7 separate regions of the Homo sapiens genome follow, and regions 2, 3, 4, 5, 6 and 7 are each linked to region 1. Evidence: promoter capture Hi-C in 16 types of primary human blood cells and fetal thymus (Javierre and others, 2016). All regions are on one chromosome and are shown on one strand. Each heading gives the region's core, a stretch centred on a gene start or on the middle of the fragment in contact. The rest is flanking DNA. Distances are from core to core; before and after follow the strand shown. Region 1 holds the start of MACC1 (MET transcriptional regulator MACC1). Region 2 overlaps TMEM196 (transmembrane protein 196). Region 3 overlaps TMEM196 (transmembrane protein 196). Region 4 overlaps TMEM196 (transmembrane protein 196). Region 5 holds the start of ABCB5 (ATP binding cassette subfamily B member 5). Region 6 has its middle 17 kb from the start of ABCB5. Region 7 has its middle 37 kb from the start of ABCB5.

Region 1 (3,308 bases), core at 289-2,788:
TTCAAATAGGAATGTAAGACTGCATAGGTACACACACACCCATGTAAACCAATGAAATGAGATATACAATGTGTTATGAGAGGAGCAGATGCAATATTATGAAATTGATTAGGAGGAAGAGAATAACTCAGATTAAGACAAACTGAGAAGGACATCTTGAAGAGTGTTTTTCATTGAGCTTTGGAAAAAATGAAATCTCTGAACATTTCAAGATGAGCAAAAATGGTTTCAGGGAGGAGAAATGCCATGCAGAATGCCCTCTGTAGGGTTTGGGGAAATTAAGAACCATTTGTTTTGGAAATAATATAATGACATAAAGGAAAGCTAGGTTCTAGTAGAGAGTTGAGGAACCTGTGACAAAAAGAAACAGAACAGCTCAGTTTGGATTGTGGGATGAGTCAAGGGGAAACTTCAAAGGGAATCTGGGTGGATTAGGTGATCTGGCAGCATGAAGCCAGGGATGCATCAGGGAGGAAGGGGTGGTTAGAACAGTAGGAGAGAAAGTGCAGAAAAGGGAAAGGAAACTTTTTCTTTGTCACCATTCTGCCATCTACTTACATTAGATGAATCCTTCTATTATGTTTCTGAACCCAGACCCAGCCAGGACTTGTCTCTATTCATTTTCTGGGCTGTGTCTAACAGGAGATAATAGGCTAGAGAGAGATGCTGTATGAACAAATAGAGAAACACATTTGTTTTAAACATTCTCTGTTGCTGATGTTGGAAAAAAATGTGAAACAATTATTGCACATTTCATTTCACTAAGTTTTACCTTTTTTCCCCTTTCCCCTAATTTTCTCTTTCTTGAATTTTGAACAAAATACACAGAAGGAAAACACAAAACACAGAAATGGAAAGTAAAATGGAAGAAAATATCAAGAAAACTTTATTCTTGCTTATATTTTAAAAGGCACATTTTAAAGTGTTATCTTAAAAATCCAGAGCATTTTAGAAGATGAAATGCCAAAAGGTCTCCATTATGTCTATATGTCTATGTCTTTGAGTGACAATCACAGTGCTGATGTAGAGGGAAAGGGGGAACTAGTTAGACACTGTCACTCACCTGGGAAGGCTTTATTCACCTGTTCCACAGGGCAGTGAGGCACCTTCAGCTCTGAATCACCGAAAGAGAATCTGGTGGGGCAAGTTCCAGCTGCATGAGGATTTGCTTGCATAAATATTTTTTACTTATTGCTAACACTGAGGGTGCCTTCTTACTCCCTGGCAAACATTAAACCACTTTTATTTCCTTTCATGGAAATAAGATTATATTTACAGATGGTTCTTAGATATACTCACCTGATTTTTTTTTAATTGCTTTTCCACCTGCTTCCCCTTTCTTCTTAGGGTGAAACTCTAGCCATACGCCCTCTTCTGGTTTCGGGTGAGGAGCCTGAATTGTGGGTATCGTAGTTCTCTTGCCTTTTGGGGTTTCTAGTTGGGCAGCTTTGGAGCCACAGTGGTAGAACTTCAAGTCCCAGGTGGCTCAGGAAGCAGGGGTGCAGTTGCCTGCCTGCATACGGAGCAAGGCATGTTTGAAGAGTACCCGGGTTTGGTAGAGTGACTTCTATTCACTAAAACCATGTGTCTGAACTGAAGAAGCTTGGGCTCACTTCCACAAATGTAAGTGCTGATTTTTTAAAAATAATATTCCTTTCACTATTGATATGTGCTACACACTAGGAAGTTGTATAATTTCCAGAAAAATGTAACAAACCAGCTGCTTAACAAATCAAGCCCTGCTTAAATAAAGGGAAGGTAACTGGTATTCTGTGGGCTTATGGGACATGTGTTAGAATAAACCTCATGACATAGAATAGAATAATACCTTGAGACATGGTTTAGAATAAAGTAGTTTATTTTAAAAAAAAGGAGGAACCCAGGTCACATTAACCATCAAAGGCAAAAACAAAACACTCTATGAGTTGCTTAAAATATGTAGATGGCTGAAATCCCCTAAAAACTTTAAATATCTCAAAAAGCATACAGGTATGTTAAAAAGACTGTGCTTTGAAGATAGATAAAGTTGCAATCAGCAGCCCCACTGCTTATTAGATTTATGACCATTGACAAGATGTTTCACCTCGCAAAGTCTCAGTTTCCTCATCTGTAAAGTGTGTGTGCATAACCTACCTCATTAGGTTAATAGCATTAAATTATGAATAAAAGATAATCATGTAATTAAGTTAAGGGGGTCATTAAATTAGCACAGTGCATTGTACTGAATAGACAGATGATACATGATGGAGGGTAACTTGGCTTCATCCTAATTAAGTTTCAATTAAGCTTGGAAAACACACCAAAGAAACAAAAAGACAAATACTGGATGATTCAACTTACCTGAGGTATCTGGAGTAGTCAAACTCACATAAATGATACTTAGAATGGTAGTTGCCAGGGGCTTGGGGGAAGGAGAAATGAGAGTTGTTTAATGGATATAGAGTTTCAGTTTACAAGATGAAAACACTTGGAGACTGTACAATAATGTAAATATATTTAATACTATTGAACTTAAAATTTGTAAGTGTAAACACTTACAAATGGTTAGGATGGTAAATTGTATGTTAAGTTTTTTACCACAATTAATAAAGATAGATTTTAAAAAATTTATTTTTAAGATCAAAAAGCATGTAGTGAAAATTCCAATGCCTTCCATTTATTAAAGGTCTTCCTAATTTCCTAAAAATGTCTTAAGTCTATATTCAGTGGGTCTAATTTAGGATTGATATTGACTTATCTATGTTAATGTCTGGTTTTTACATAGCAATTACTGGGTGATAATGATGAATTTCAGGTATATTCTTAAAGTTGTCTTAACCTCAGTGGTGATTCTTTTATGCCCCCCTGAACTTAATTACATGATTATCTTTTATTCATAATAGCGATTTTTAATATGATTTCATGGGTAGTGTACAGAATCTAGAAATTATGAAGTCATAATTATTAGTTACAATTTGCTTAAAAGCTTTAGTTATGACTCATTTTTAAAACTTAAAGCAAAAATATTATTTATTCCAGTTTTCTCAACTTCCTTGTAGCTAATTTACAAATAGAATATTTTTATCTGTTTGTGTTTTAGAGATAATAAAAACTATTAAGGCAAAGTTTGTTAAACACCATCTTATCTTAAAATGTATTGGCTGATTTGGAGGACAAAAGACATTTTGGAATTATACTAATTTTGAACTTGAAGACATGTCTGTTGAATTTTTAGAGAATTCTTTCTTGAAAGACCACACATATGCCTAGGTGTCTATTAAGACTAAACATCCCTTATGGCATTTGGTGATAAGTGAAGGTGATAACAA
Region 2 (3,308 bases), core at 446-2,945, 500 kb after region 1:
GCTGATATTTAATGGAAGAGTGTAATCAATGTTTTAAAGAATTGAACACTTTTTAGGATTTTCATGAGGCAATGAGACACCAAAGGACTAGAAAATAAAACAGTTTTTGCATTTGCATTTATCTCTCCTGAGCATCCACTAAAATTATTCTTCCTAAAAAATATATTGCCTCACTGGTTTCTCCACCCTTTTTTATGGGGTAAAAAACTTTCCAGAAACATTCTAGTACAATAATTTCAAGAGGCTTTCCAGATTGTTCTAAAGAAGACTTTTCAGGAAAAAGAGATAATAAAACAGAAATAAAATGCATATTCTATACAAACACTATTTGACTAGCATGATTATTATATTTGTAATGACATATTTCATATGAGTAATTGAAAAGTGCAAATATCAAGAAATAAAAATAACTTATTGACGTCTTTGTTCTGAAAGACAGATGGCTTCAAGGATGCTACAATTCAAAACCTCAGTAATGCCTTGTTATAAAAACATTGTAATTATTTTCAACTTGTGAATGAAATATATTTCATAATTTATTTGTAAATGACAAAAAACCTCAAGCATAAAAAAGAGACTTTTTAGAGAGAGAGAATACTAATCTATATGGTATTTTTGCATTTTTGCACAAAGAGTGAAAAGTTATATGTGAATATCATTTAAGAAAATAAACATGTTTTGATCATACTGTGCAGATTGATCTGCATGTTCATGAATGAGCCTAAGAATAAAGTATGTGTGTGAATGTGTGTATACATACTGTAAATATAGAACATGTATACAGCATATATTATAGCATACATGAATGTAAATAGGTATTAGAAAAGAAATTGTGATGCTGTGGGGGTATTATTAAGATTCTACTCCAATAGAAATGGGAAGGCAATTGCTCAAGGCCCTTCTATGCCCACAAAATCACATGTTTAATTTCTACTAAAATTGCCCATTTTTCTTCTTTTAATTAGGTTTTGTGTAAATATCATTGTGGGTGATATTTATGAAGATGAGTGATCTGAATAGTGTAGTATACAGATAGACTACTTATTTGACTATTTCACTATGATTATAGTATTTATGTATAGCAATTAAAATTAATTTATAAACGAACATGACTTTAATGACATACTTCCGTATTTATAAAGATATCATGACTTAAAATTATTGATGATATTGATATTTCAAACACCTTGCAGTCCAGTTAAATGATACAAAAGGGCAGATGATGTAACCCCCCAACAATGAAGTTATAATTACCTTTGCTGTAATCTAATTTAGGTGTTTTGTTTTACGATTCTCATGAAATAATATAGGCAGTCCATATATAAGAAAGCCTATATCCAAAGATCCTGAAAGAATTCTTTGAGGAAAAAGTGAAAAGATAGGCTAACATTTGTATAGCTAGATTCAATCCTTTCCTCTAATAATGGAATGTTAAAATAGCAAACAAGAACAACACATATAAGTGAAAAAACAACATATATCTGAATATATTTATCAGAATATAACCTCTGGCAACAGACAAAGAAATCTATCATTTTTAAATACATAACTCTCACTATATTGTATACTTTTCTTTTTCCTCAAATCTAATCAATTTTCAAGTCATTTTTTATGAGTTACTTGTTGAACCATAGGTAAATTAAAATATTTACTGTTCAGTATGAGAATATAATTTATAAACAAAACATGAGTTTTAATTGTGCTAACACAGTAATGATCATTCAAGTTAATGAAAATTTGAAGGTCTTTTATAGCAACATGATCATCGTTTAACCTATTTAAATCAGCTCACTTAAAATTCTGGCTGTCATCTATTCAACAGAAATAACTGGACTCTGCTTGTTTGGTGCACTTTTTGAAGTCTCCCAATTCCTTTGGATAACTTCATTGCCTAGTAGATTACAGAAGTTGTCCATAAATGCAACCTCATATAGTGAATCAACATCATAACTATTCATTCAATGCCACAAACAGGCATGATCTTTGCCAATGAAAATCTAAATTACATCATGAAGATATTTGTGTGTGTATGGTCCTCCTGAATTCATGCAAGGATGTAGTTTTGTACTGAAAGAATAAACACTGACTCTAATTTTCAGTAGCATTTCTCTATAAACATGCTTGTTCAATACAAAATTATAATACATCAGAAAAATGTTGTAATGCCTTTTGAACTGATCTATAACATAACACATTAAAGGACAAAAGGAGACATATCACTGCTTTGATGTATAGTTAAAAAGAGATGCCATCATCACAATTATTCAAATAGTTTACAGTGTATGTTTAACCAAGTATAGATATATTTTTAAATATGATTATTTCTACCTAGTATTTTCAGAATTGAGTTTAGAATGATTTACTTGGGATGTGCGGCGATTCTTTTTTAGATAAGTGGGGGATGTTAGGAAGACATTGTTCAAGTGCTTGAAACTTTAATTTGGACAATACATTGAACCACATGCTGGAATGTTTTAAGTGACTACCTTATAGTTTTAGTATGAGCCTACCCTTGGAAGAAAGTAAGGTGATACTAAATTAGAAAAACTATGTGAAACTGGAGTGGTGGTATACTTTGGACCATATCAAATAGGTAGAGTATTATAAGCATAAAAGAATAAAATTGGGCTCGCTTTGGAAATTTTAAACATATATGTGTATGTGTGTATATATATGCATATACATACACATATGTGTATATACACACACACAATGGTTTGGAAGTGGAACAGGAAATGATAACTCTACTGACATGTCTATAATAAAATGATGTGCTTTGAAACTATATATGGTGTTGGCTTTCTTTTCATTATAATACAGAAATACCTTCCCCAATAGCTACATGAATAAATATGCTATTCTGAGAGTGGCAAGGGATGGCCTGCTGTGAATGAGGGGAAAGAGACAGTCACAGACGAAGGATACAGAATTAAATAAGAATATTATTTGAGATACAAAAGCTAGAATATGTTCAAGTATAGAGAGAGACTGGTTGAAGCCATCAAACAAAATGATTATAATAAGAATGTGAAGTCCCTGAGGGCAAGAGAAAATAAGACACAGATCATATGAGACAGAATTTACTATGGTAGGACAGAGACTGCAGGTGATGTCACAAATTAAACCACAATATTTAGAGAACCCTGAAGGCCTACTTGAGTTTGTCAAATTGGTTGTTACTGGCATTTGGGCTGAATAATAACTTATTATGCAGACTGTCCCACACATTTCAGGCCATTTAGCATCTCTCATCTCTACCCACTAAATCCCAGGAGGACACTCTTATCATTTTAATAACCAAAAATGTC
Region 3 (3,308 bases), core at 481-2,980, 480 kb after region 1:
TCATCAATGCATTTACTGATTCATTCATTTCATCTGAAGTTCCATTATGTCATCTAGAAATATTATTTCAACAGCACAGCTTTGTCAGAGAGGCTATGGCAAAGCTGGATATAACAAGTAGATGATCTGTCACTCTAACAATGCCAGTAATTGCAAACGAAATAACACATTGAATTCCATTGTTTATATGGAGATTCATATGAGGTTTGAAATGGTTTCTTAGATCCATAATTTATTTTCTTCATAAACTCGCCCGTCACAGAGCATAATTCCTTTTTCAATCCATCTGTTTTTTCTAGAGGGTCGAGAGACTATCAAAATGCTTTACAAAATGAAGACTTTATTTCAGCAACTATTATGAATGTGTGGGAACTACAAGCTACTTTCTAAATAAAGATGAAATATGTTAGTTATTGAAGGTGGAGGCTGCATCTACTTCAACATGTAGTGGTTTATCCTTCATTATATTTAAGAAGAAAACTACGCTCAGCCTTCAACCTCAATCTTCCATGATAGGCTTAATTTATTTCTGTACTCAATTCTTATAAACTACTCTATGGAACTTTTGAGTTTGTTCCTGAAATACCTGACCCTCCAGATTCTGAATTCATTTCAATTCCACATGCAAAACCAGCCTTGGATATAGGCAGGCAAAACAATGACCTCGGTGGTTGTGGTTGAAAAAACGCTAGCAGAGCTCCTTGGCCCACCCCAAAAAGGGGTGCCACCCTCTCATTCCAAATACACATTCTGAGTATGTACAGATTAGGGAGTTTTTGTTAGTATTTTTTAAATAGCCACGGAGAACACAAAACTGAATAACAATGAATCTTGATGGGCTATTTTTTCTTAATATTTACATCATAATTTTGCCTTGAGCAAATAGGAGTCAACTTATTTAACTTTTTGAATAAGTAACTCCTAAAAATGGTTCAAATGTAAATAAAACCAAAAGCATTCAACAAAAGTTCAGTCCCCTTGATCAGGTTGCCATCACTCCTCTAACCCAAATAATCACAGCCATTTGTTTCTTGTTTTTCCAGAGTTACTTTACACATGTATGAGCAAACTTGTATATAGATAATTATATATTTCTTGCCTTTCTACACAAAAGGTAGTATATTACATACACAATTTTACACCTTGCTTTTTTCCCTTAACTATATGTGTTGGAGAACTCTCCATATCAGTGAATAGTAATCTTTCTCATATATTTTTAATAGATGCAAAGAATGCCTTTAAATTTAACCAGTTATCTACTGACTGACATTTGGGACTGCTCTTCTTGTGTTATTACTAATAGTGCTAAAATAAATAATATGGCACATGGATCAGTTTGTACACTTGCAGCTAAATCTGTTGGATAACTTCTCACTTGTGGGACTGCTGAGGCAAAGGAGATACATGTGTGCACACACACACACACAAAACACACCTGTATAATTTTGATAATTGTTGCTGAATTCCTTTCAGTAATCAATTTATCTATAAGCATTGTATGATTCTGTAGTTCTCTACATCTTTGCCAAGATTATCGAACAGTAAAGAACAGCATCAAAGGATTTCTGCCAATCTGATAAGTGAAGAAACATATTTGAGTTAGTTTGAAATTGCATTTCTCTTATTACTGATGAGGTTGAGCATATTTATGTTTAGAAGTCATTTGTATTTCAGGGAAGTATCTGTTCATATCTTTTGTGTATGTTTCCATTGAATCGTTTATCTTTTCCTTATTAGTTTTTAGGAGTTCATTTACATTAGGGAAATTAGTCTTTTGCTTATTGTTGCAAATATTTTCCCCAGGCTGCCCAGAGATTCAGTGTCTGTTGAGGGTTCACTCTTTGCTTCAAAGATGGCAACTTCTAGCTGTGTCTTCAGGTAACTGAAGAGATGGACAAGCTCTCTGAGGCCTCCTTTATAAGGTCACTAATCCCATTCACAAATATTCAGACTATAGCAATTATATTTTATGTATTTTCATTTGTACAAATCTATAATATTCTTCATTAATGTTTTTAAGTTTTCTCCTTATTTATACTTATATTACACAATTTATTTTTAGGAATTTTATCACTGGCATATATGAATATTACTGCTTTCTAATATTAATTTGTGCCTTGCTACCTTTCTATATTACCATGTAGAGTTGATTCTCTTGGGAATTTCATATATCAATTATATTGTCTGCAAATAATGATAGTTTCACTTCCACCTTTGCAATTTTCATACTTTTAATTTCTTTCTATTGCCTATTTGAATTGTCTACTGGCTCTGCTCCAATGTATAACACAAGTGGTAATAGTGGGCATCCCTGCCATTTTCATCACATTGTATGAAGGATATGTACCATCAACATGATTTATCACTGTTGGCATTGACCTTGGTCACCTGATTGAGGTGGTGTTTGTTCAGTCTCTCCACCCTAAAGTTACTCTTTTTTCTCCTTTCCCATATGGTACTTTTTCGAAGAAAATCATTACGTGTGGCTCACACTTAGATAGTGGGAAGTTATGCTCCACTTCTTTGAGAGCAAAATATCTACATAAGTTATTTGAAATTTTTCTGTACAGTAGATTTTTCTCTTCTCTCCATTTGCTGATTTAGTCTATCATTCATTTTTATGGCCTCAAGGATATTTATTGTACACATTGGGTCATAATCCCATGCTGTTTTATTTTGGTGCTTGAATTGCTCCAGCCTTTAGTCATTGGAAGCTATTTCAGTTGGCTCCTTTGTCCCTTTGACAAACCTCAATGTGGGTTTTGTTTGTTTGTATGCTCCATGTTCATCTTATATATTTCCTGCCCCAGTCCAAAATTCAGCCATTTCTCCAAGGATGCATGGTTCCTTTTATAGGAGAAGGTATTAGAAACCAAGATCTGGGTGATAGGTGTGCTCATTGATACTGGCATGTTGCTCCTCCTGCGACTTGTCAGTAAACAGAGCAAAGAAATATATGTATGAGTATATGCCAATGTGTGTATAGACATCTATATAAATAGTTATATATGTAACCATCTGTATCTATATTAAACTAAAAATTGCTTAATACTGATACCTACAACTCCAATCCCTTACGATGTGGATCATTCTAGACTCTTACCCTGACTTATTTCTGAACTCTCACTCTAACAGTAAGAAATCTGGCTTTTACCATCTACGCATTTACTTAATTGTTCAATTTCAGTATACATGTATAGTGGTGTCAAAATCATTAACCAGTAACCCTGTAGGAAACAACTTTGTTAAATAGAGTATAATGCTTATATACCATTGCCTTTTTGTCTTTTCTTCAGTTTTACAGATTC
Region 4 (3,308 bases), core at 360-2,859, 460 kb after region 1:
TAATTTATTCTAAATTCATCATTTCACAAATAAGTAAACTAAAGTCCAGAGAATCAGCATAGCTGGCTAGCTGTAGAACTAGGACCAGAGTCCAAATCATCTGTTTTTTTATTCTAACATTATTTCGACAGATGATTCAAAATATTAACTATCCTTAAAAAAATCTTTCAACCAAAAGGAAAATGCAGTTATCTGGCCACTACCCAAAACTGAACAGGAATGATCCCAAATTATTAGCAGTGCTAAGCCATAATGGAAATATAATTAGTATGTTAACAGATTTCAGAGGTTTCTACCTGTTTGGAAGTTTCAAAGAAATGGCTTTCTACACCAATTTTGGCATCTTTTCCATGGTGCTTTTCCAGACCAAATGAGAAATGGAAGCTAATTTTTAGAAGCTAATATTTTCCAAACCAACAAGAGCTATTGATCAATTTGGATAAGTAAGTGAATTGCCTTCAAGAAGGTTTTTTTAAAAACAGAGTCCAAAGCTCATTTATCAAGCAGTGAACATTCAAAACTTTGGACTGGAAATGTCAAAGTCATTAGGCTATTAACATTTGCTATCTGAGCATTTTCTTTTTAATTCAAATATATATGAATTAAAATTTATAAATTTACTACACCATTTGCCTGGGGTTCTTAGTAAAAAAAAAAAAAAGTATATATATAAAAATGGCTTCATTCAACACTATTTTAAAAGATAAATGCCTTTTAATCATCCTATATGTTTAAAAAGGTAACCTTTTTAATGCTTTTATTTTTAACCATGGATAGAGTACAGCATATTTACTAGTGATGGAGTGGGCTGTTTTCTAATATGAAAGTAAGAAACTAAAATATCATATAAAAGACAAGCAATATTAATTAATTTTATATACCAATCACTTATAATTAAAGTAAAATATTTTCTCAAAGGATCAGTTACTTTGGAGTAAAAAAAAGGAGTAACTTTAACTCATGATTTTGCTAATGTCTTTTCAGCTCCAGCCAAGCTATCTCACTAAACCTCTTAGACCCTCAGACCTACAGAATAGTCTTTTAGAGGGGACATGAGGGTTTAAAAAATACTAAGATGAAAGCATTGACTGGGCATCATGGCTCATGCTTGTAATCCCAGCACTTGGGAGGCCAAGGCGGGTGGATCAATTGAGGTTAGGAGTTCGAGACTAGCCTGGTCAAGTGACTAGGTTAGGAGTTCAAGACTAGCCTGGTCAAGTGAAACCCCATCTCAACTGGTGAAACCCCATCTCAACTAAAAATACAAAAAAAAAAAAAAAAAAAAAAAAGCTGGGTGTGGTGACACGCACCTATAGTCCCAGTTACTTGGGTGGCTGAGATGAGAGAATCGCTTGAACCTTGGAGGCGGAGGTTGCAGTGAGCCAAGATTGCGCCACTGCACTCCAGCCTGGGTGACAAACTGAGACTTCATCTCAAAAAAAAAAAAAAAAGTATCTACTGCAATATAAGATGCAAGTTTTGGGGATATTACACTATAGGTTATCAGAAAACTTATGCAGGTAAAAAGCAAACTGCCTTTAGAGCTAATTTAGGAAAACATTGTATTTTCTGAGTGATAAGATATTTGGGAAGAAACTTGTCTTTTCTTGACTTGTAGCCATTACTGGAACTGTGCCTCATCTAGACTTGCATGGTAAAATGTAGTAGCCAATAGCCACATGTGGCTATTGAGCACTTGAGATGTGGCTAGTGTGAATTAAGATGTGCTTTACACTATTCACCATAACAAAGACATGGAATTAACCTAATTGCCCATCAGTGATAGACTGGATAAAGAAAATGCGGTTCATATATACCTGGGATACTATGCAGACATAAAAAGGAATAAGATCAGGTCTTTTGCAGGACATGGATGGAGCTAGAGGCCATTATCCTCAGCAAACTAACACAGGAACAGAAAACCAAATACCACATGTTCTCACTTATAAGTGAGCTAATGTCTTTCAATAAGAACTTTTAATAAGAGCTCACTTTTAAAGTGAGCTAATAAGACATTAGCTCACTTATAAGAGAGCTAAATGATAAGAACATATGGACTCATAGACGGGAACAACACACACTGGGGCCTTTCAGAGGGTGGACGATGGGAGGAGGGAGAGGATCAGGAAAAATAACTAATGAATCTAGGCTTAATACTTGGTTGAGGAAATAATTTATACCACAAACCACCATGACACAAGTTTACCCATATAACAAACCTGCAGATGTACTCCTACACACGTAACTTTTAAAATAAAAGTTTAAAAAACAAAGATGTGCTACAGGTAAAAAATACATACTAGATTTCAAAGACTGAGTATGGAAAAAAGAATGTAAAATGTCTCAAGTCGTTTTATGTTGATTACATGGAAAAATGACAATACTTTTTATATATTAGATTAAATAAACTACATTGCTGAAATCCCCCTTTTGATCTTTTAATGTACTACTAAAAAGAATAGTGATATATGTGGTTTGCATTTGTGGCTTACATTAGATTTCTATTGCATAGCTTTTGTCTGAATACATTTTTTTTTTTGATCAAAAGAAATGAGTAGCTGGTCAGGAAACTTCATGCTTTTTTTTTTTTTTAAATAGAGTCTCACTCTGCTGTCCAGGCTGGAGGCTGGAGTACAGTGGCACAATCTTGACTCACTGTAACCTCTGCCCACCAGGTTCAAGCGATTCTTGTGCCTCAGCCTCCTGAGTAGCTGGGATTACAGGCATATGCCAGCATGCCTGGTTAATTTTTATATTTTTAGTGGAGACAGGGTTTTGCCATGTGGGCCAGGCTGGTCTCAAACTACTGGCTGCAAGTGATCTGCCTGCCTCAGCCTCCCAAAGTGCTGGAATATAGGCATAAGCCACCACGCCTGGCCTCACATTTTGTTTTGCTAAGACATTAACAATAGATGAGGAAAGTCTTTAAGACAATTTGTGTTATTTTTTGGCATATTCATAAACTGGAAAGGCAGAATTGGCTTATTTGCCTTGTAGTGACACCAGAAACAGGTGTTACAGTACAGCATTTCTCAAAATGAACCCTTAAATTATTTGTACCCATGACACAATACTTTCAATCTTATTTTTTTACTAGTAAAATCAAAGTCTCTCTGTTACTTTTTATTAGTGGGATTTCAAGTATAGTATAATCTGGCAAGTACCAAAAGTGTTCCAGGCAAGGGAAGACTATTTCCCACTTCTCCCACTGAACTGAAATTCATTCACTCATCGATCTATTCATCACCAAACATTCACTGAAATTTTTGTATGTGCACGTCTCATGTTAGTGATAAAGGTTTAATATA
Region 5 (3,308 bases), core at 286-2,785, 400 kb before region 1:
AAGCACTGAACAGCCTAGACATCTTTGCTGTCATAGAGCTTAGACTCCATTACAGGGAGAGTCACAATTTTAAAAAAAGGCATACATAAATAAGGAAAATTAGAGAGTGGTCAGTTTTTGGTATATAATTAAAACAGGGTAATTTTATGAAGAGTAATGTGGTATTTATATACATCTGGTCAGAGAAAGCCCCTTGTAGAAGATAATGTTTAAGCTGCAATCTGAATTATAAAAGGAGGTTGCTATATAAAGATCAAAAAGACTATCCCAGGCAGAAGGAATACTATTTAGATAGTAGAGAAAAGTGCACTGAGACAAAGCGACACAAGGTCAAAGCAATTTGTGAGCCAGTTGGCAGGTCCTCACTGTATGGAAAGCTACAGGTTGACTATGATGGCTGCCCCCATGTTCCTCTCTGTTACCCAATGTTTCAAAAGGAAGATAAATTTAACTTGAAACTTGTCAAGTTTGAGATATTTGTGAGATAATCAGGTAGTAATATCCAGCACTAAGTAGATAACATGAGAGAAGAACTCTGAACATCTTAATTGCTCTACACAAAATCTATCAGTCAGCCAATTCTTACTTATTGACAGCTGTGTGGATGCTATCATGGCAAGTACTATGGAACATACAAGAAAATGTAAAAATAGACAGAATATTTTATTTATAAGGACTTTTGCCTTAAAAAATATTTCTAGGTTCATGTACCAAGATGGAAATCATAGGACAAAATACCCATGTGAGAAGAAATCATGAGATGCACTTAACGTTCAAGCATCCTTGGTAAGAATAATCTGACAAATAGCTAAGATATACTGGTTGGATGGAAAACATGGGATCTTTGGTTAGATGAAAGAAGATATGGCTGGGCGCAGTGGCTCATGCCTGTAATCCCAGCACTTTGGGAGGCCAAGGCGGCTGGATCATCTGAGGTCAGGAGTTCGAGACCAGCCTGTCCAACAAGGTGAAACCCCATCTCTACTAAAAATAAAAAAATTAGCTGGGCATGGTGCTGGGCACCTGCAATCCCAGCTACTCAGAAGGCTGAGCCAGGAAAATCTCTTGAACCCTGGAGGCGGAGGTTGCAGTGAGCCAACATCGTGCCACTGCACTCCAGCCTGGGTGACAGAGTGAGACCCTGTCACAGGGAAAGAAAGAAAGAAGATATGAATTGTATGGATGCTTTAAAATGACCAAAATAATAGTAGGATGATCATTTCTGACTATGAAAAAGTTTCATACACACACATTTTTGTTTCCATCTTTACCACAAACTATTCTTTCTAAGATGGAGAAGTGTTTTATATTCTTCACAAGCTTCAATTGTTTTCATAATCTCTAATACTTTTGCTTTGACTTACTTTAATTCCTTAGATGCTGTTTTGAGTGGGCCCCATCCAGTCAGTTGAAGTCCTTAAGAGAAAAGACTGAAGTCTTCTGAAGAGGATAGGATAAAGCTTTCAGATACAAGGTATCAATTTTTTGCCAGAATTTCCAGCCTTCTAGTCTGGCTTGTGGATTTTGGAAGTGCCAGTCACCACAATTACATGAGCGTGTTTTCTCTTTCTCTCTCTACATACACACACACACACACACACACACACACACACACACACGGCCTATTGATTCTATTTCTCTAGGGGAACCTAATATACCTGGCAAGACAGACGTTATGTGATGAATAGTACAAAGAGTGACTATTCTAGTATCTAAGAAGACTGAGGAAGAACATTGTGATCTAAAATGGTTTCGCCCACAGATGAGGATGGCCCTGAGGTTAGTTTCTGGAGGAAGGCTAAGGTTTCAGTAAGTAGAAAAATGTGGAGGAGGAACAAGGGCATAGTTTTAGGAATGCAAGGTGAATTATCTCATGGTAGAGAAATGAGAACGGTTTGGATAGGATGGACTGTTCATGCAGAAATGGAGAGAGAGATAAGGTACATACGATTGTAAAAGGCACTGAACCAATTTTTAGGACAACTTTTATAATTTTCTGGAATGAAAGAGACAAAGCCATTGGTATTTGGTACAATTAACCTGATTATTTGACATTACAGCCATGGATATACTGGAAGGACTTGGGGAAACACAAGATTTAAGTAGACTCATTAAAATCTAGTTTGATAGCAGTAAGTAAGACTATTTGAGAGGTATTTTTAAGGCGGTAGGTAGGTAAAGAGGACAAGGAAGAAGAAATAAAAAAAATATAAGTTCAGCGATCAAACTTTTAAAAGTTGTAACAAAAGAGTAGTAAAGATGGTAATAGAGAAGTTATGAGACAGAATTGGTTTTGGGGAAATGGTAACATTCAGTTTAAATATGCAAATTTGGGTTGATATTGGTGTCCAAGTGAAAATATCTGGCAAACAGATGTAAATGTGGCACTAATAATTAGGAAAATTGCCAACCTAGAGATAAACTTGCAATTGTCATATGCACAGAAGGAATAATTAATTTTGCTTTAAAAATCTCATGATGTCATCTAAATGCACAGAAGTGGTGTAATGTAGCTAAAAGTGTTACTTCTAGAGCAGAGCCATCCAACAGAACTTTCTGCAATAATTGAGATATTCTCCACACATCCAATATCCTAGCCGCTACACATATGTGGCTATTGAGCGCTTTTAATGTGCCTAGTGAGGGAGCTGAATTTTGAGTTTTATATAATTTTAATTAATTTATTTTATTTATTCAGCTTTAATATGTATAATTGACAAATACTATTGTCTATATTTAAGGTTTACAACATGATGATGTGATATACATATACATTGTGAAATGATTACTGCAATGAGCACATCCATCACTTCACATATTTACGTGTTTGTGTGTGTGCGTGTCTGGTGAGAACGCTTAAGATCTACTCTCTTAGCAAATTTCAAATATACAATACAGAATTATTAACTGTAGTCACCATCCTGTACCCATCTTATAACTGGAAGTTTGTACCCTTTGACCAACATCTCCCCATTTCCTCCACCTCCTAGTCTCTGGTAACCACCATGCTACTGTCTGCTTCTAGGAGTTTGACTTTTTTTGGATTTCACACATATCTCTGGCTTATTTCACACAACATAATGTCTTCCAGTTCCATCCACGTTGTCACAAATGACAAAGTTCCCTTCTTTTTTATGACTGAATAATATTGCTTTTCTTTATCGATTCATGTGTCAATGGACACTTTGGTTGTTTCCATATATTGGCTGGTGAGAATAATGCCGCAATGGACAGGGGAGTGCAGATACCTCTTTGAAATACTGATTTCATTTCCTTGGGGTATATACCTAGAAGTGAGATTGCTGGAT
Region 6 (3,308 bases), core at 394-2,893, 380 kb before region 1:
AGTCTGCTTATATTCGATAAATGTGGCATATTTGATTATTTGTCCAAATTATTTGTTGCCCTTCCTTACTATACCCTCTCTGGAGCCCCTTCCATTTCGAGGAGTATACTTACTCTCCCATTGACCTCGGCTTAGCCTTGTAACTTGCTTTGACTGATGAATGTGAGTGGAAGAGGCCTGTGTCATTTCTAAGCAGAAACTTCAAGAGTCATCTCATCTGTCAATTAATTTTTTTCCCTCTGCCATCAGAATAGCATGTCCTTATTAGTAGCTACTTCTTCAGCCTGAATCCCAGAAGGAAGAATTATTAGAATAGAGATGCAGCCAAACTTCAATGGTCATTAACGTGAGCATGAAATAGATCCGGGTTGTTTTCGCCCTTGAGATTTTGGGATGACTAACGCTCCTAATGGCCCCCTGCCCACCGACAATGGAAGAGTGAGAATTAGAGGCAGGTTTCCTGTCCATCTTTCCCCCACCCTCCTGTGGTTTCTGTTACAATACTGAGAAGGAGAGGAAGAAGGTTGAATTTGTCTTAAGTGGGGAGAGGATTATTTGCTCCCACATCAGAGCTGAAACTGGGAGAAGGTGTGTTTTTTATCTACTCACTTAGAATTTAGAATGGAGATCTCAAATTTCTTCCAGCCCAGGAATTCTATTATTCTGTATTCCCAAAGTAACATCACTGTCCATTTTTGCTACCTATACCAGTCCTATTTGTGGAGTTATGTAATTGAAGCCTGTCTTTGGCATTAATCTGTGGGATTGGCTGTGAAATAAACCATTGTATATAATAATACTTAATATAAGAAAAATGTTTGCTACATTCCAAATAATAAGCAAAAAAGTAAACTTTTGAAACAAGCTCTTCCTTTACCTTAGGTTCAGGTAAAGCTTAGAAGGCCAAGATGATGTTTTCTAAGGAAACATTTTATAAGGGTGATTGTGGATTCCCGTGCTGCCCACAGGGAGGCCACACAAATCAGGACTTCACAATATTTTCTTGCGATAATTTGTTTACATATTTATTCCTAGGCCTGTTTTCTCCCTCCACAAAGCCAGGTTCCTTGAGTTAAAAGGGTTACTTTTTCAACTGCTATATATAACAATAATTATAGTCTGCTCCAGTTCTTCTACACCCTTCATTATTATTCAGATTTTGAGGTCTATGGCAGATTAGAATTCCTGGGTCATTTTCAGAGATTTGAGATATTTTCCTCAACCTCATTATTTTCCAGCATAAACATCTGAAATCAGAAGCAACGAGGTAATTTAAATGAAGATCAGAATGAGTTATTGACAATTTCAGATAAAAAAACAGGTTTTTGGTTTTAAAAAATATCAAATTGGAAAGAGGAGGACAATTATTTCCAGTAAAATGTAAAACCATAGGAATAGCTATTATTTATGGGCTACCTACTCCAGGCCGAAATCTTACTATATAGGATTGTATCGAATCCTCCCCAAAGCTGCCCGGTAGGCTGTATATATGTCGCCTTCAATGTTTGGGATGCGAAGATGGCGCCCCAGAGACGTCAGTCTGTCATAACGATCACGTGACTTTATGGGAAGACCTGGCATCCGATCCCAAGTCCCTCAGAAGCCAAAGCCCACAGACTTCCTCTACGCCACACTGACTTTCTCTCATTTGGCTTTCAAGTGCGTTTCTACTCTGGTTATCATATTTATCATCTCAAGTTTCCTACTCAATTACATACTTTCTTTCCAAAATAAATATTTATCCACATAAACCTCTATCTTCACAGGAAGCAGAAAGTTGAAAATCGCATAATCTCCATGAAAATTTCTGGTGATCTTCCTACGGGAAAGGGAAGTTGCGGTTTGCAAGGAGCACAGGCAGGGACCTCTTACCAGTAGTTTGTGGGTCGTTGGACCACAGGAGGATGGGGGAAGCATTTGGGCAGCCAGAACACATAAATCCATATTTGAAATACCTTCATAAGCAGTGTAGTTGGTGGGAATAACTTGGGTTCATTAATTATTCTGTAATATTCTCTTTCTGAATGCCTTGTCCGATTATTAAAGTCAGAAGAAGCTATGCAACCTGTCAGCCACTAGATGTCATTGTTGCTCATGAAATAGAATGGCTCATTCTACAGTGTTTATGTGTAGATCCTTGAATGACTGCTGTCCTCTTCCCTGAAGTTTACCCTTCAACTAAGAGCTATGAGTAATATAGAACATGTGGCTTCTGATAAGAAAAAACTTGTGTCCTTGATAGAAGCACGATAAACCTATCTAAACAGTTACAGAATATCACAAGAGTGTGCATTCATTTATGACCACTTACAAATATGAAGAACAGAGGTAACAAGAGCTCTCAGATCCAGAGAGAGAAATAAATGTAAACTGCACTGGCTGTGGAAGCTTCTAGAGATGTGGGACTCAGGTGCTGTTCTAATGGATGATTAAGACTAGGGTAGGAAGAAAGCAAGATCATTTCAAGAAGGAGGCATGCCATGAGCATTTGTGTGATGGTGGGAAAAAATACTCAATTTGGGTGAAGTAGAAGATTCATTCTGGGAAGAGTAGAGCTGCTGGTGAGGGTGACAGATGGTATAGGAACAGAAAAAACAGAGGAGTGCTTGAATTTACCTTCCATCCTGAATTTGCCTCTGAAAGTTTCTGAGGAGAGTGATGTGATGCAAATTGCACTTTAGGAAGATGAAGTGTCAGCGGTGTATAGATCCAGGAGAAAGGAAGAGTCGTATTAGGGAGAACACATACACTACAGAAAGTGGACAGCCGCTACAGTGTCCAGGTAACAAACTATAGCAGAAGACCAGTAAGGTGAACACAAAAAAATGACTGGGCTACCCTGACATGGCTATCTCTCGTTGAGGAAGACATGCTCCTGAATGGAAGGAATTAAAATATCTGGAGACTTAAACCTTGTGAATGGCCCTTCATTGTTCTCAGGACAAGGGCCCCCCAGGTCATCTAGGGCCACAGGTCCAAGCATCCTGGTGCTATGCCATTTTCTTCTTTCAGTTCCCTGAACTCATCACGCGCCTCCTGCTTCAGGCTCTCGCCTGAGTTGTTCTCTGTCTCCATCCCCTCTTCCTCCCCCTTTTCTCCCCTTACTTGTCTCTCTGTGTGCATCAGTTTCTTTACAATACACTCTCATAGAACCAGGAGCTTCTGCATCACAGCATTTATCCCTTTTCATTTATATTTCATACTTATGTAATTGCGTAACATCTGTCACTCCTTCTAGAATGTAAATTCTGTGGTAAAAGGGCTTATGTCCTCATATGCTCTCCATCATGTCTATTCTCATCACTGTG
Region 7 (3,308 bases), core at 319-2,818, 360 kb before region 1:
TGAACTTTACTGACGGCTTAGTCATTATCAACTTCTTAATCAACTTGATTAACTTAGAAGGTGACTTTATGGTGAATGGCACAGAAGACCTAAAGTGTCTGGTTTAATAGCTGAAACAACCCTTTGAGTCGCTGATTTATTTTTTCACTTTATTCCAATTCAATTTTTATAATATAGGCTTCCTGAAATTTGCCACATCTCTGAAAGTAGAAAACAAGTCAATAGAAGACGTTTCTAAGAAAAGCCAGCAACCAGAGTGAGCACAATCAATTTGAACATGTTAACTATAAGTTCATACTCAAAGAGTGAACTCATATTTAGTGTGGACAACTTCTAAATGGGAAAGATTGAGGGGATATGTTCAGAGAATAGCCTAACTTTTAGAGAAATTGCAGCCATTTTCTGTTTTGGTGGATACATGAAATATTCAGGAAAGTTATGCTTCTGTTGACTTTGATTGAAAAATAGGTTACAGGGTCTTTTTAGTTTTCTTGGATGATTCATTTTGAAATCTGGCATTAAGACAGCATTAAGAAAATACTGTGGAAAGAGAATCTCACAACATCTAGCCCTAAGGCATTTGAAAATCTTCTCTTTATCCTTTTATGTTAATTTCTTAATTTTTTAAAAAGTCAAGGGCTGATAGTAAATATTCATCCCCCCAAAACAGCATTTGTGAATATTCATCCCCAACAAACAGCATTTGTGAAATATCTCTTATGTATAAGTATGTTCATAGCATGGACTCATGAATAAATTTGTATTTAGGGTTGAACTAAGCCATAGATAATGCAAGTATTTTGGGGGAAGACACCCTTATTAAGGTATGTCACAAGATTTCTTATTGAGAGGCCCATCTCATGCCACCCTCTTCCAATTACCTGAGATTGACACTGTTGCCTTCCTAAAGAAGATACCACCTATTGTTAATGGGTGTAGGAGGTTGCAATGCTCTGTGTGTATGCATGCACGTGCACGCATGCACGCACACACACATACACACGCACTTATTAAGATACCTACAGCAAAGGAAAAAAGGGAAAAAGAAATCACGTGTTATCAAAGACTTAAAGTCATTTCAAGGATGTGTCAAGGTGCTAAGCTTGGCCCAAAATTAACATTTTTTTTTTTGTTTCTTGGAAGGGTGAAAAATTAAGCCATGAGTTTCTATTAGCTGAAGAGCACAACTGGTTTGCAAGACTAGATGACCAATACCAGGTCAGATGAGGGCACTGATGAAAAAGAACACAGAACAGGTAAGTTTATTTATTTATTTATTTTTGGCGAGACCTGGGAGAAGCTGAATGAGAAAGGGTATACATGGCAGCCCAGATTTTACATCTCTGCATGGTGATCGAAGGTTAGAATGAAGGAACAGGAGATTCCAAGAGAGAAGTAGGCAATCACCAACAGGTTTTCTTTGACACTGTGCTGAGCTCTGGCCTGCAGAGAAGGTAGACCTCGACAGGGAGACAAGTGGCACTTGAGTGTGTTTAGCAGGGCTCATTAGAACTATGGAGATCTGGCAGCATCACTGTCACATTCTAATTATTTGCCATGGAGGTGGAAAAAGCATTGCGAAAGAGCAATTTGAACAATAACAAAAATGGAGGAATGCAGATGAACTGAGAGAAAGAGGGCTTTCCATATAAGCCACTGAGAGAACATACTTGAGGAAAAAAGATCTTTTAAGATAGTCACAGGGAGTACTGACAATGTGTTAAGCATTTTTACAAGTTTTTTTTCTCATAAATTCCTTAAGATAACCCTATGAAGTGGATCCTATTATTATCTCCATGTTACAGAGGGAAACACTGAGGCTTAAAGACGTTGAGTAAGTTTCCCAGGATCTCACAGCTAGCAAGTAGCAGAGCTAGGAGTGAAATCTAAGGAAAGGCAAGGCAGTTTAAATTAAATATTCAAAGAGGAAAGTCATATGAAACGGGGATTTTTTTTTAATCAAGTATGGCTCTGGAGGGCAGAACTAATGCGAAGTTAAGGAAAAAAGTAAATTTCACTACATTGTAAGCTTTCTGAATTTTAGAACTAACCCTGGGGGAAGAACTCCTTCATGAAATCATGAGCTGTGTGTACTAGAAACATTCAAGTGCAGCTAAAATGGCCACGTGTCAGAGAAGCTGTAGAGGGATTTCAGATTTGAGTGGGAATGTTAGACCAAGTGACCTTTAAATCCCTGTGGTTTAAAATTACCACGATGTGAGTTAGTTCCTCAACATCTGGATTACATGTATTTTCAGGCCTGAAAAATAAGAGCTCAATCTCAGTTAACTCTGATTTCCCTGGAAGCCAAAACAGAAAGGGAAACTATATTCTGAATTTGATAAAAAGGTAGAAAATTAGTTTATGAGGAATAGCAAACTTTTTCTTTGCTTTCATTTCAGAGGGCAATTGAATACAAAGGTCAGTGTTTATCTGTTAAGCTCCCTCATTAGAGGAAGTATGACATAGCAGGGGCTTTAAGGTGGTTTTAGAATATAAATATTGCCAACTTCATTTGCATTTATATCTCTGTGTCATTGAGCATCACCATCTTTAATTGCCATCCATGGTCTAGTTTTTGACACAGGTCTAGGAATCTAGGAATCTATGGGTCCCATAAAACATTTGTAATCTTTAAAAGCCATGCATTTATCACATATTTATCAATTAATCCAAATCTAATAAAAATAATTATTATTTTTCTTACCACTAAGTATAGTTTTAACAGCAAAGTGATAAAAAGAATTAAAAGCTCTTAACTCAGTTGAGATTTTGATCTCTTTAAAACCCACAGTGGCATAGTAGTCTCCGCAGGTGTAAGACCAAAAATACTTCTTGTCATATTATTACTTGTGAGCTGCTCTCAAAATAGCAGTTTTTTAAAAAATAAGAAACCACTTTCACCCTCTTATAAGAATTGTCTTATTCATACAGTACAGATGTTGGGAAATGAAGACCTATAAAATCAAGGATAGACTAACTTTACAAAACAAAGAAAAGAAAGAATCATATTCAATCCTGCTTGGTTAAGCAAAATACAATAGTGAACATATATCTTATGGGTTATATATCTAAGACCAGGAAGGTTACCTAGTTATTGTAGAAGTAAAGCAAATGGAATACAATGCACATATAAAGACCAGAAACATAATTATAATTCCATTTTTTGGCAATTGAATAGAAAATAAAAAATTTCTTTTTGATAAGATTCCCAAGGAATAGGAATGCTTATAATCAATCAACTTATTGGGAGCAAGACTTACTGATTTAGTTCAACTAGGTGAATTAAAAAGTTATTCTGCATAAAA

What was found. The method cuts DNA at HindIII sites, captures the fragments that hold promoters and counts their contacts. A CHiCAGO score of 5 or more calls a contact.
Region 2: a contact is called between a fragment that was not itself captured here and the fragment with the promoter of MACC1 in region 1, in 1 of 17 cell types (monocytes). The highest score is 6.4, in monocytes.
Region 3: a fragment that was not itself captured here is called in contact with the fragment with the promoter of MACC1 in region 1 in 1 of 17 cell types (total B cells); the score reaches 5.6 in total B cells.
Region 4: a fragment that was not itself captured here is called in contact with the fragment with the promoter of MACC1 in region 1 in 6 of 17 cell types (megakaryocytes, total B cells, M2 macrophages and 3 more); the score reaches 9.8 in megakaryocytes.
Region 5: a contact is called between the fragment with the promoter of ABCB5 here and the fragment with the promoter of MACC1 in region 1, in 2 of 17 cell types (megakaryocytes and monocytes). The highest score is 7.5, in megakaryocytes.
Region 6: a fragment that was not itself captured here is called in contact with the fragment with the promoter of MACC1 in region 1 in 6 of 17 cell types (monocytes, M0 macrophages, M1 macrophages and 3 more); the score reaches 19.5 in monocytes.
Region 7: a contact is called between a fragment that was not itself captured here and the fragment with the promoter of MACC1 in region 1, in 2 of 17 cell types (M0 macrophages and M1 macrophages). The highest score is 5.2, in M0 macrophages.

The regions. Positions count from the first base shown.
Region 1 is chr7:20,215,614-20,218,921 of GRCh38, reverse strand. MACC1 (MET transcriptional regulator MACC1) reads left to right here and starts at 1,538. Exons shown (of 7, transcript NM_182762.4): 1 at 1,538-1,623. GIRGL (glutamine insufficiency regulator of glutaminase lncRNA) reads right to left here and starts at 1,345. Exons shown (of 4, transcript NR_134569.1): 1 at 1,300-1,345; 2 at 559-666. RefSeq lists an enhancer at 514-1,713. The HindIII fragment of the contact is 5,395 bases long and covers 1-1,604 here.
Region 2 is chr7:19,718,792-19,722,099 of GRCh38, reverse strand. TMEM196 (transmembrane protein 196) reads left to right here. Exons shown (of 5, transcript NM_001363562.2): 5 at 1-2,785. LOC107986774 (a long non-coding RNA gene) reads right to left here and starts at 82. Exons shown (of 5, transcript XR_001745112.2): 1 at 1-82. The HindIII fragment of the contact is 9,231 bases long and covers 1-3,308 here.
Region 3 is chr7:19,738,077-19,741,384 of GRCh38, reverse strand. The region is part of intron 1 of TMEM196 (transmembrane protein 196); the gene reads left to right. The region is part of intron 1 of LOC107986774 (a long non-coding RNA gene); the gene reads right to left. Among named protein-coding and RNA genes, the nearest start is that of POLR1F, 31 kb to the right of the region's middle. The HindIII fragment of the contact is 6,426 bases long and covers 1-3,308 here.
Region 4 is chr7:19,755,319-19,758,626 of GRCh38, reverse strand. The region is part of intron 1 of TMEM196 (transmembrane protein 196); the gene reads left to right. The region is part of intron 1 of LOC107986774 (a long non-coding RNA gene); the gene reads right to left. Among named protein-coding and RNA genes, the nearest start is that of TMEM196, 17 kb to the left of the region's middle. The HindIII fragment of the contact is 4,792 bases long and covers 1-3,308 here.
Region 5 is chr7:20,613,894-20,617,201 of GRCh38, reverse strand. ABCB5 (ATP binding cassette subfamily B member 5) reads right to left here and starts at 1,535. Exons shown (of 28, transcript NM_001163941.2): 1 at 1,365-1,535. The HindIII fragment of the contact is 15,833 bases long and covers 1,463-3,308 here.
Region 6 is chr7:20,597,495-20,600,802 of GRCh38, reverse strand. No RefSeq gene overlaps it. Among named protein-coding and RNA genes, the nearest start is that of ABCB5, 17 kb to the left of the region's middle. The HindIII fragment of the contact is 1,494 bases long and covers 897-2,390 here.
Region 7 is chr7:20,576,729-20,580,036 of GRCh38, reverse strand. No RefSeq gene overlaps it. Among named protein-coding and RNA genes, the nearest start is that of ABCB5, 37 kb to the left of the region's middle. The HindIII fragment of the contact is 927 bases long and covers 1,105-2,031 here.